Linked DNA regions of Homo sapiens: region 1 is linked to region 2. Evidence: promoter capture Hi-C in human tissues and cell types (Jung and others, 2019). All regions are on one chromosome and are shown on one strand. Each heading gives the region's core, a stretch centred on a gene start or on the middle of the fragment in contact. The rest is flanking DNA. Distances are from core to core; before and after follow the strand shown. Region 1 holds the start of MICALL1 (MICAL like 1). Region 2 holds the start of SH3BP1 (SH3 domain binding protein 1).

What was found. The method cuts DNA at HindIII sites, captures the fragments that hold promoters and counts their contacts. A contact is called where the count stands out against the background at its distance.
Region 1: the fragment with the promoter of MICALL1 here is called in contact with the fragment with the promoter of SH3BP1 in region 2 in 1 of the 25 tissues and cell types used here (lymphoblastoid cells).

The regions. Positions count from the first base shown.
Region 1 is chr22:37,904,602-37,911,763 of GRCh38, reverse strand. It overlaps MICALL1 (MICAL like 1), which reads right to left and starts at 5,467. Exons shown (of 16, transcript NM_033386.4): 1 at 5,196-5,467. The coding sequence starts at 5,341. RefSeq lists enhancers at 732-1,525, 3,515-4,328, 4,329-5,144, 5,145-5,960, 5,961-6,776 and silencers at 4,915-5,024, 5,135-5,854. The HindIII fragment of the contact is 31,369 bases long and covers 1-7,162 here.
Region 2 is chr22:37,638,419-37,642,693 of GRCh38, reverse strand. SH3BP1 (SH3 domain binding protein 1) reads right to left here and starts at 3,025. Exons shown (of 18, transcript NM_018957.6): 1 at 2,848-3,025; 2 at 1,526-1,568; 3 at 1,216-1,320; 4 at 79-155. The coding sequence starts at 2,906. PDXP-DT (PDXP divergent transcript) reads left to right here. Exons shown (of 6, transcript NR_109952.1): 6 at 1-862. RefSeq lists silencers at 2,808-3,247, 3,278-3,427, 4,058-4,275. The HindIII fragment of the contact is 22,988 bases long and covers 1-4,275 here.

The DNA of each region.
Region 1 (7,162 bases), core at 4,218-6,717, 270 kb before region 2:
GAGCTGGAGCTGCCAGGGCAGGGCAGGGCATGAGATCACGGGCCCTGGAGGCATCCAAGCAGAGGCTAGGAAATCACTGGGAAGGGGTGAGGCTCAAGCCCAGGCTTTCAAGCTTAAGATCCTTTGCCTCTCTGCAGGAAGCCACCCCTGGAGTCCGTGGCAAAGACATAACTAAGACCCGCATGTGACCTCCCCCAGGGCGCAGTGCTGGGCTCCTCTGTCTCATTTACTTTCTTTTCACAGCAACTCTGTTTGGCAAGAATTGATCTCATTTTATAGATGAGGACACTGAGGCCTGGAGAAAGGAAGCCACCAGCCCTGGGAATCCACATGTCTGGCCCTCCCACTGCTCACAGGCCCCTGCAGGTGTGTCACACACTCGGAGTAGCCACACCAACTTGCTGCATCCCAACCCGGTCCAGCCTGCAGATGAATGTTTTTCTTAATGGGGCCGTGAATAGAAGAACAAGTTTGAACCAGAGTGGAAATGTACATACTCCGGAGCTGCTGGCATAGAACAGCTGGTTGGCCCCACTGGGCCACTCCTGGGGCAGCCTCCATTGGGGAAGCAGTGAGGGATTTTCTAAACTAGGAAAGGTGAGAGGTGGCAGGGCCTGTCTGGGGGCCCCAGCACGGGACAGCTGGCTGGCCTGCAGGCTTTATTTATCCCCCTCCTCCCTCCCCACTCCAGGCCGCTGAAACCAGCAGAGACAGCTCAGTCTTCCCGCCGGGCAGCCTCCTGGGTGCATCCGCATGCAGCCTTGCCCTTCTATGGCTGAAAACTGCAGCCCTGACTGCCGGAGATGGGTGGGCAGAGGCAAGAGCAGGCCACGCCGCCTCTGAGGGCTGAATTCCCATGTGACCATGGGGTTGGGGGGATCAGCAGTCCTTCCAGCATTCATTGTCCCATGTGCAAATCAGGAAAAGCACTAATACCACCTCCCAAGCTGGTGGAGTCCCAGCTTGGTAAAGGGCAGGCCTCGCAGATATGAGGGAGCCAGGTAAGCACAGCCCCCTCCTCCTGCCCCCAACACTTTTCCAGGCAGGGGCCAGGGACTGTGAACCCTGGGCAGGAAAGAGTTGCTTGAGGACCTTGGAAGGGGTCTGGTGCCCCAGGGCTGGGTGGACGGGGAGAGGCAAGGTGACTATGTCTGGGCACCAGCTCCCTTTTTGCCACTCTGACCAGGCCACTTCCTTCTCCCCTGGGCTGCCTCCCTAGCTCCCCTTTTCTGCCACTGCCTCAGAGTGCGACCTTAGCAAGGTGTTTCACCTCTCGAAACCTCTGTCTCCCGGTCCGGTTCAGGACACTGCAACAGGGCGAGGAAAACACCATGGTACCCAGCCCCCAACAGAGGCTTTTTCCAAGACCAAATGAGACAAAAGCAACTTGTCTCAGCCGTTTATTTCGGTCACCCCAGAAGTGTTCCAAGAAGGCTGGGGTCACATTCTAGCTACTCTGTGCCCCCAACTCCCTACACAGTTCCCCAAATTTCGAAGATGCTCCGTAAATGTTTGTTGAATGAATCAATGTTGAAAACAGTGTGAAAACTGTAAAAAACCTTCAGGATCCTGCAGGTTTTCTTCCACCCCCATCTCTGTCCCTAATTAACATCTGTGTTTTGGTAACACATATATTTTCTGAGAGTCTTCAGAGGCCTGCGGAGTTCTACTTGGCTCTGGGGAAGATGAAGGACACAGAAATGAAACCCACATGGTCCACGCCCTCAAAGGAGCTTAAGCATGTCTGGATTTCGGGTGGTGCGGAGGGATGGCCCAGCCCCCACAACCCTCGTCCCAGCAGAGCCCTGGGCCAACACTGGGTTCACCCAGGCAGGGCCCACAGCCCCAGAAGCCTGAACCAATTTAGGAGATGATTCTTGCCCTCACTCTAGGCCACTCCTATTCTCACGGAGATCCTCCCAACCCATCACTGAGGACTTCCCTACACATTATGTGGGACCTGGGCCTCAGCTTCTCTCCTGTGCAATGCGCTGGCAATATTGCAAATGAATGCCTGGACATGATTCTGGATCTCAGAAGCGGAGCCACCCTCCCCTGCACATTTTTTCCAGCCACATCCCTCCCTTGCTTAAAACCTACGTGGTTGGCCAGGCGCGGTGGCTCACACCTATAATCCCAGCACTTTGGGAGGCCAAGGCAGGTGGATCACGAGGTCAGGAGATTGAGACCATCCTGACTAACACAGTGAAACCCCGTCTCTGCTAAAAATACAACAAATTAGCCAGGCATGGTGGCGGGCACCTGTAGTCCCAGCTACTCGGGAGGCTAAGGCAGGAGAATGGCGTGAACCCAAGAGGTGGAGCTTGCAGTGAGCAGAGATCATGCCACTGCACTCCAGCTTGGCTGACAGAGCGAGACTCCGTCTCAAAAAAAAAAACCTACGTGGCTCGGCCAGGCATGGTGGCTCACGCCTGTAATCCCAGCACTTTGGGAGGCCGAGGCAGGCGGATCACCTGAGGTCAGGAGTTCGAGACCAGCCTGGCCAACATGGTGAAACCCCATCTCTACTAAAAACTACAAAAATTAGCCAGGCATGGTGGTGCGTGCCTGTAATCCCAGCTACTTGGGAGGCTGAGGCAGGAGAATCGCTTGAATCCGGGAGGCAGAGGTTGTGGTGAGCCGAGATCACGCCACTGCACTCCAGCCTGGGTGACAGGCCTCCATCTCAAAAAAACAAAAACAAAAACAAAAAAAACCCTGCATGGTTCCCTGAGGCCCCTATCCATGCTCCTTAGCCAGCAAAAGCAGCTGTCAGCCATCTGTCCCAACTGCATCTCCCAACTCGCTACCTTGTGCTCCCCACTCAGCTACACAGCCTCCAGCTTTGCACACACCTCCCGCCCCTTGCCTTTGCTCAGATGGGGTCCCATGCCAGAACGTCCACCCAGCAGCCCTCACCTGGCTCCTGCCATCTCCTTGAAGACTATATTCTCCCTAGGAGGTCTCCCACCCCCAGCCCTCTGATAGGGTACATGGAATTGCCATCATCGTTTATACACGTTTCCCCTACAGGTGTGGGAGAGCGTGTAGGGTTGCCTGTTTTGTCGATTGGTACTTCCATTACCAGGTACAGTGTCCAGCACAGAGCAATATGACTCTACAAATACTGGTTGAATAAATGAAGAAATCAAACATTGTTATTGGGCCAGGCATGGTGGCTCATGCCTGTAATCCCAGCATTTTGGGAGGCTGAGGTAGGCAGATTACTTGAGCTCAAGAGTTCAAGACCAGCCTGGGCAACATGGTGAAAACCCATCTCTACAAATACAAACAAATTAGACAGGCGTGGTGGCGTGTGCCTGTGGTCCCAGCTACTAGGGAGGTTGAGGTGGGAGGATTGCTTGAGCCCGGGAGGTGGGGGCTGCAGTGAGCCATGACTGTGCCACTGCACTCCAGCCTGGGTGACAGAGTGAGACCCCATCTCAAAAAAATAAAAAACATTAAAAAAAAAAAAAGTAACATTAGTTACTCACAGTAACTAATGTTAAATGAATGCTTGTTATCTCATGCAATCCTCACATTTCTGTGAGCTGTGTCACATTATCAATCCCACCTCACAGATGAGGACACTGATGCCTGGAGAGAGCCCATGAGGACCCAAGGCCATGCGCCTAAGACATGGAGAAGCTAAACACAAACCAGGCGGCCTTTATTTACTTTGATGCCACCAGGCTCAGGCCCACCAAATGGCTTCACTTCACACCCAAGTCCCCTCCCACACTGGGTTTGTCCCTGCTTCCTGCCTCACTCCTGCCCCTCAAACAAAACAGAAGACCCCTTGGGCCCTCCCTTCCAATGCCCAGGTCTAACCCTGGTGCCCTTTTCCTCCATCCTTCTACCCCCTGCTCCTGGGCAACCAGGCATCAACCTTGTGCTTCCATTAGTATGGGTGTCACATGCCCCACAGCGGGCAGGGGCCCACCTACATGACCACCTCATCTTGTTCCCTTCTGTATCCACAGCCCCAAAACCCTCTCCTCCAGGGCCCAAGCCACCACCCACAGACACGGTACTGCAGGGTACATACAGGTAAACCAGGTGCACCTGCATCATGGAATCCTGAGGCAATCCCTTAGAAGCCTTCCCACATGCTGCCCTCGGACAGTGCAAATCTGGAGGTGGAACAGGCACAGAAAGCCTCCATCTGCCAGGCTGGGGGAGCCCTGGCAAGAGGGCTGCATGCGAAAGGGGTAGGGACCAGAACTCTCCTCCCTGATTCACAGGTGAGACCTGAAGTGCAAGGAATGGCACCAGATAAACTCACCCAGTGTTTTAGGAATGAAGGGACGAAAGGAGGAGAGGTTCCAGGGCTCAAGGCAGAGAGAGCAAAGACAGAGGCTCCAAGTCAACTGTTCCGGGGAGTCTGAATGCATTTTCCCATGAGAACCTCATTGGGCAGCTCTGGGCAGGAAGGGGCCATTTCACAACCTGCAGCACCCGGTTGGTGTCTATCAATCGGATCCTAGGAGTCTTCCCAACATTGCCGGCCTGTGACTCCTCTTGCGCGCCCCACCTGCGTGCCCCACTGAGGAGGGCTGCAGGGCCATCGAGCACACACCCGGGAGGCAGGGCTGCGTCCTAAGTTGGGGGGCGTGGGGAAAGCACAGGGTCTGTACATCCATTCATCCAACACCTGTTAGCCGAGGTCTCCTCTGTGCCGGGAACTGTGCTACTGTCCGGAGACAAGCTCCTATTTGGGGGTCAGAGAAGTGGGGGTTCACCTGCACACCCGGAGCAAGGGGCCACCCCGAGTGGGAAGCCTCGGGGGAGAGGGGAGGCCCGGCGAGCCCGTGGAGAAGAGTTTAGGGTAGGAGAGGCCCAGGGCCCCCAAAGAGGGCTCAACACCCCTTCAAAGAGGTCAAGGGCTTAGGGGTTCAGCGATCCTCGGCGGAAATCAGCGCTTTGTGGGCGGGGCCAGTGTCCCCGCGGAGGGACCAGCCTCGGGGGAGAGTTCGGGATCCCACGGGCGGGGTCAGGGCGGCCGGGCGGGGGAGGGGCGCCCTGGGCCGGGGTCTCAGGGACCCGCCCGGCGTCCGGGGCCGTCGGGGGGGTCGGCGTCTCCGTGTCCGGGGGCGGCGCCTGTCACCGCCCGGGCTTCGTGTTACTGAGGGGGGGCGGCGGTCGCGGCCCCAGCCCGCCCCGCGCCGCCCGCTCGCCCGGGGCCCCGCACTCACAGCAGGTCGGGCCGGTGCCGGTGCAGGATGGCGCAGAAGGCCAGGCCGTCCCGGAAGGAGCTGCTCAGGTCGCGGATCTCCACGCCGCGGTAGCCCTCGCACTGGCGGCGGCACCAGGCCAGCAGCGCGCCCCGCGGCCCAGCCATGACCCCGCGGCCCGCCCGGCTCCGGCTCTGGCTTCGGGGCCCCGGCTTGGCCGGGACGGCGGCCGCCGCGCGGGCCCGGTTTCCGGCTGCGGCTGCGGCTCCGAGCTCGGGCGCCGACCGGCAGGCGAGGGGAGGGGCGGAGGCGGGGCCGCGGTGTCCTCGCTCGGGCGCCCCGCGGCCCTGCCCTAACCTGCCCGAGCAGCGCCGCCGCGTGGCCCGGCCCGGCCGGCCGCCGCCTACTCCGCGCTGCCCGCTCGCCTCATTGTGGGCCGGTCGTGGGAGCGGGCGTCCCGCCGCCTCCGTCCGCGCCGGAGGCGCGCCCCACCCAGCAGCAGCTCCGCCTCCAGTGCGGAGCCCACCCCTACCAAGACGGGCCGGCGCCCCATCGCCCGCCCCTCGACGGCGCCGGGCTCCCGCTGCTCCACTGGGTGCCCGCGAAGCCCCCGCACCCGCCGCAAGCGGACCACTCCCCACGATGACTTCACCGCCGCGGCCGCCGCCGCGCCACCCACCGGGAGCCCTCCACCCTTTGGAGGCGGGACACCTCGTGCTCCCATCCGGCCTCCTTCCCGCTCCTAATGACCGCAAATCCCCCCTTCCACCCCTAGCTTGAAACTTTGGGGAGGCAGTTCCCCTGCAGACCTCAGAGCACCCCCCCCCGGATAGCCACCAGCTTCCCTCATCCCGGCTCCCCACCCTAAAGCACCGCTGAGCTGGAAGTTGTCATGTCCACCATCCCCTCCCCCATAGCTTGGCAGGGAGACCCATGCGCCCCTCCGCCACCTTTGGTCCAGGTGTCCCCTAGGTGATTCACTGAGCTCCCCTCAGCCCCTGTGTAAGCTCAGGGATCTCGTCCCTCCCCACTGCGGCCTGCCGGGTCCCCTCAGCCATGGTTAGTGTGGTGGTGGTTTGAGTTCCTATGGGAAGGACCTAGGCCAAGGAGGCCCCTGCCTGGGAGGCATACAGGCAGTTTGTATCTGGCCCTGGAACCTCCCCAAGGCTCATTCTCTATCTTTGCCGTCTTCAAAACCCCCGCCAGCCAACCGACCCTTCCAGCCAGCCAACCCTTCCAGCCAGCCGACCCTTCCGCAGAGGCCCCTCCTGACTCTCCCACAGATGAATCAGCCTCCATCTGCTGCAGAGGTGGTGATGTCACCCTGACCCATGCAATAGTTAGCTGGAGTGGGTATTTCGCTCCCTCCCAAGGGAAGGAACAGGGTCTTAGTCATCTTCATCACCCCTGAGCACTCAGGGGAGTGGAAAGATCAGGCATTTTGGAGCCCTATTAACCCAATCTCCAATCCTGGCTTTCCCCACTCCCTTAGTCATGTGATCTTGTGCCTCCCTGGACCTCAGTTTCCACGACTTAAAAATGGAGATAATACCTGCTTTACAAGGTGGCTGAGAGGATTAAGATGTAAAGTGCCTTACCCTTTAGTTATCACTCATAAATTCTATTGACTCCTGGTACTTGGTAAACATGATGAAATGGACTGAAATATTTTGTACCCAGATTGTCATCTGGGCCATTCTGGGTAAATTATCAAGGAGAGAGGCCGACTTAGGGAATTCTACCTCTTCAAAGTCCACTGAGTCCCAGTCCAGAATACTGGCCCAGGGCCTGGAGAACCCAGCTTGCCAATCTGGGCTGGCCTAACACTCCTGCAACTGGAAGGCCGCCATCTTGGCTCAGTATATGGACTCTCAGGCCACCTAGGAAGAGCATGGCCAGAGTGCCTGGCTAGCCCTCTGGACTTCTCACCAGCCCTGAGCTGCCAACTCCTGCCCTGTCCCCTGTGGGATAACAGTGGCAGGAAAGCA
Region 2 (4,275 bases), core at 1,776-4,275:
CTCACCACCTGGACCCCCTCCCAGCTGAGATCACGTCTTGGTATCCCCAGGTGAGGGCTGGGCCCCGTCTGTGCTCACCCCATGCTGGAATCAGGGTCCAGCTCCTTGAAGCTCTCAGCCATCGTGGTGGACAGAGCCATGAGGGGAAGCTTCTTCTGCAGGGAGGGTGGGGCCGGCGATGAGTGTCCGTGCCTCCCTCCACCCTGCCTGAGCACCAGGCCAGCCCCTTGGGGCAGGGGAGGAGGGAACCCAGGAGGGCCACAGTCCCAGATGAGAGTGGAAACAAGATGACAAGGCGTGGTGGGGGTGACATTTCCCTGAGAGCATGGATGGAGCCCCTCTCCATCTGGCGTGCCCTTTCCTCTTCCCAGAAGCCACTTGACTGGGCAGGAAGGAATGACCAAGTCCTACTGCAGACTGGGAAACTAAGATGCAGGGAGGGCAGGGAGCTTGCCCCAGGTCACACAGGTGGAGGGAGAATGGGAGCGGGAGCTCTTTCCCCTGTCCCAGGGTATATATGGCTGACCTAGCCACCGCTGAGTTCAAACGCTCTATGGCTCCCAATTTCCTTGCCTTGGCCACACTGAATTGTCAACTGATTCCAAAACATGGCCCCACACTCCCACCCCATCTGGAGTTACGGGGAATGCCTGCTCTGGGATCAGAGACCAGGGTTCAAACCTCAGTTCTGCCACTTACTAGCTATGTGACCTTGGACAAGTGACTTTATCTCTGAGCCTCCAGTTCCTCATGTGTAAAGCAATGCCTGCCCCTAGGGTTGTGCCAGTGTTCCATGAGACAGTGCACTCATATGTTAGTAACAAGCTGGCGGTTATCAGCCAATAAACGCTGCCTCTTGATTAATAAACGTGTATCCCTCAAAAGCCAGCTCAATTGCTACCTCCTTCAGGAAACCCTCTGAGGCCGCCCCATTGACAGCCTGCTCTTGCGCACTGATTGGACAGAGAAGTTCAGGTGCTGTCAGAAGCCTGGCCTTGGCTTATGGGAACTGGTGCACAGGGAAGTGGGGTAAAGGTGATGGGGAAGGTATAGGGCCTCTTGAGTGCAGTGCCAGAGGGGCCTTGGAACAGAGCAGTCTCCATGCCCTTGGTGCCAGACACTCAGACTGGCAAGGAAACCCCAGCCCCGACCTTGCTTCCCCATTGGATGGAAGTCTCCTGCTCAGGCCCCTCCTTCCCGGGACCCCCCACTCACCACCCGCTTGTCCATGTCTGCCCCGCTCTGGCCCTGCAGACAGGCCTGCAGCCGCTTGTGGATGTTGTGGGCTGCCCGCTTGGCCGGCTCCAGCCGCTGTTCTACCTGGGAAGGAGGTATGGAGGTTAAGGATCAAGAGAGGCTGTCTCCCCCTGAGCAGGAAACTTTCTCCTGTCCCCTGGGGACCCCATGGCCAACAGCTTGAGGAATGACTCAACCCAGGCCCCTACCTGGCGTCCCCGCCCCGGCCCTCTGCTCCGAGACAGCCTGCACAGGCCTGCCTTCCCACCTGCCCGGCCCAGGCACGTACCTGCAGCAGGTCCTCACCCAGGAACTCAGCGGTCTCCGGGGTGCTGCGGGGAGTGGTGGGGGGGGGGGGGAGAGTGCTTCTGCTGAGCCTGCCTGGGTTAGAACGCCCCCTACTTCCCTTCCCCGCAGCAGGGCACCTGGACCCCAGTGCTTCCACTGTCCCTCCCAGCTGAGGCCTGCCCTGGGTGGCCCAGTTGCTTCATCCCAGTCGGAGCACATTCCATGGGGGTGGGAATAGGATACATGGGTTTTTCCTCCTCCACCCAGGGCTGTGTCCTGAGAGAGGGCGGACAGATGAAACTAAAGGGGAGGCTGAGAGACCCACCCGGGGCCCAGCTTTGGGACACAGAAGCCTCTTTTCTGCCCACTCCCAAATCCTCAGCCCACCCCGGGATGAGGAGTATTAGCTGGCCCCAAGAACGGGAAGTGCAGGAGCTCAGACTCCTAGGCACAGTCACACAGCACTCTGGACTACAGCTGTGGGCAGGGGTGCACAGGCCCTTGGCCCCCACCTGGGGACACATGGGGGATGCCAAGGCCCACTGCAAGGTGGTCTGACTGTCCAGGCTATGTAGGCATCTGTGCCAGTGTGAGACTAGAACCAGGTCTCTGGACACCCAGTCCCCTCCCTGGACCCAGAGAATGGGGAACTCCTGAGGCTGGGGGAAGAGGAGCAGAGAAGACAGGCTCTGAGAGGCTCCCCAAACTTCCGGCCTCCGTGCCACCGGCTCAGAGGCTGGGGGTGGGAGCTGGGAGACCTGGGGATATTTCCACCTGAGTCCAGGAAAAGCAGAAACGAGACAGAAGCAGGAGGCCCCTGGGCTGGGGGGAGGGGGAGGGGGAGGGACGCTGCAGGCCAGGGGCAGGCCCCTCCTCCCACCAGGCCAGGACCCATCTCCTCCCCTCGCCCCAGGTCTGTGGCCCTAATCGACCCTCCTCCCTCCCCGGCCCAGCAAGCAGAGGTGGTGAACTGTCCCATTGTCCAGAGGGGACAAGTGAGGTCAGGAGGACCATCCACTTAGAGACTCGTGGAGGCAGAGAAGTCCCAGCGTCCTAGGGCAGAGAGCATTCTCCCGCCTGAAGCCCCCTCCAATCCGGTAAGGGGGGGCATCCCTTCCCCCAAAGGCCACCCTTGCTCCTCCAGCTCTGCCCGAGAGACGGGGGCGGCGTTCAGAGAGGAGGAAGAGAGAGCAGGAGTCTGGCCGCTCAGAGGGTGGCTGCCCAGCTGTCCCCAGCCTCCCCCACCCCCGTCTCCCCCGACCCTTTTACGACCCCTCAAGTCCTGCCGGGGTAAGAGTGGGGCTGGAAGCGGGTGACACTCACCGTCCCAAGCTGCCCGTCTGGGCCAGCTGCCGCATGCGGTGCAGCTGCCTCTTCATCATCTTGGGGGCGAGCTGGGGGCTGCGGGGTCACGGCGGGGGTCGCGGGCCCGGGGAGCCCCCGGTCCAGCCTGCCTCTCCTGCGGCGCGGCTCTTGCCCCGGATGGGTGGGCGGCGCTCTCGCTTCCTGGGCCGCCGCGCGGCTCTTGCTGGCGGCCGGCTCTCTCCTCCCCCGCTCACGACTCCGCCCCCGGCCCCCAGGTCACTCCTCTCTCCAAGTTGGTTTCCTCGCTCTTCCCCGGCTTCCGGGCCCCCGGGCGACCCCCGGCCGGGCCCCCGCTGCTGTGTGTCCGCCGGCCGCGGCCGTCCACAGGTTGTGCCCGGCTCCTCCTCCCCGCAGCGCCCCGCCCAGCCCCGGTGGCGGGAAGCAGGTAAGCCCATTCCTGCCCCTGCGCCCGCAACCCGCCCCAGGCGGGGTGCCTGCCCCACCCGCAGCCTGCAGACCCGAAGTATAAATAACCTTTGCATCCCTCGCAAAGAGGAAAGGGTACCAAGCGAAAGAGGGGTAGGCCTTTCTGACCTGTCCTGGCCTCTCTGGGCCTGCCGCGGATACTGCCTTGCACTCTCTTCCGCAGAGGACCTCTGGCCCCCTGGAACTAAACCCCCCACCACTGGATGACTGGCTGGGAGCTTTGGCTTCCTGGGGCCACGGGCTGCTGTGTGGCCGTGGACAAGCCCCTGGAACTCCGGACTCGCTGTTTCTAATGGTCTGATGGGCCAGCTGTCCTGGGCCTGCCCATTCTGCAGAGTGGACAAGACACCCCTGCCAGCTCCCTTTAAGGGAGGTGCGTGCCACCCCTCAGCCACCAGGAACCCTCCCAGAGCGGTTCGCGACACCCTGTTCTCCACATCTCCTGGCAGTTTGCTCCATCTGTGAAGCCCGTCTCCTCTCATTCCTCCTGGCAAACAGCCTCAGTCCCCCTTCCTTCTTGTAGGGCAATGATGTAGGTGCTGCTCTGACTGCCCCCAAACTCAGTAGTTCTCCTCTTTGGCCCTCCACTCAACACAGAGTTAGGCATACAGTAAGTGCTCCATAACTGCTGGTTTTACAAGATGTGAGCGCCTTTAGGAAACAGTAGGCTCTCCTTACCCTGCACCCCTGTGGCATCAGGAGCCGCAGGCGTGGGGAAGAGGGGAGGGTGTGCCCCAGAGTCCTGCCACACCCTCTGCACTTTGCTTTGTTAGTTTCAGTTTAGTTTGAGACTATTTGAGCCACTACTGTGTGCCGGTGCAGACTGTGTGCCGGTGCAGACTGGGCGCCTCTCAGAGGCAGGACCTTGGCCCCACACATCTCCATACTCCCAGCACCTAGCCCAGGGCCTGGCACACTCACTGGCTGCTTCTCTCCTCCCTAATGAGGCAGGACTCATTG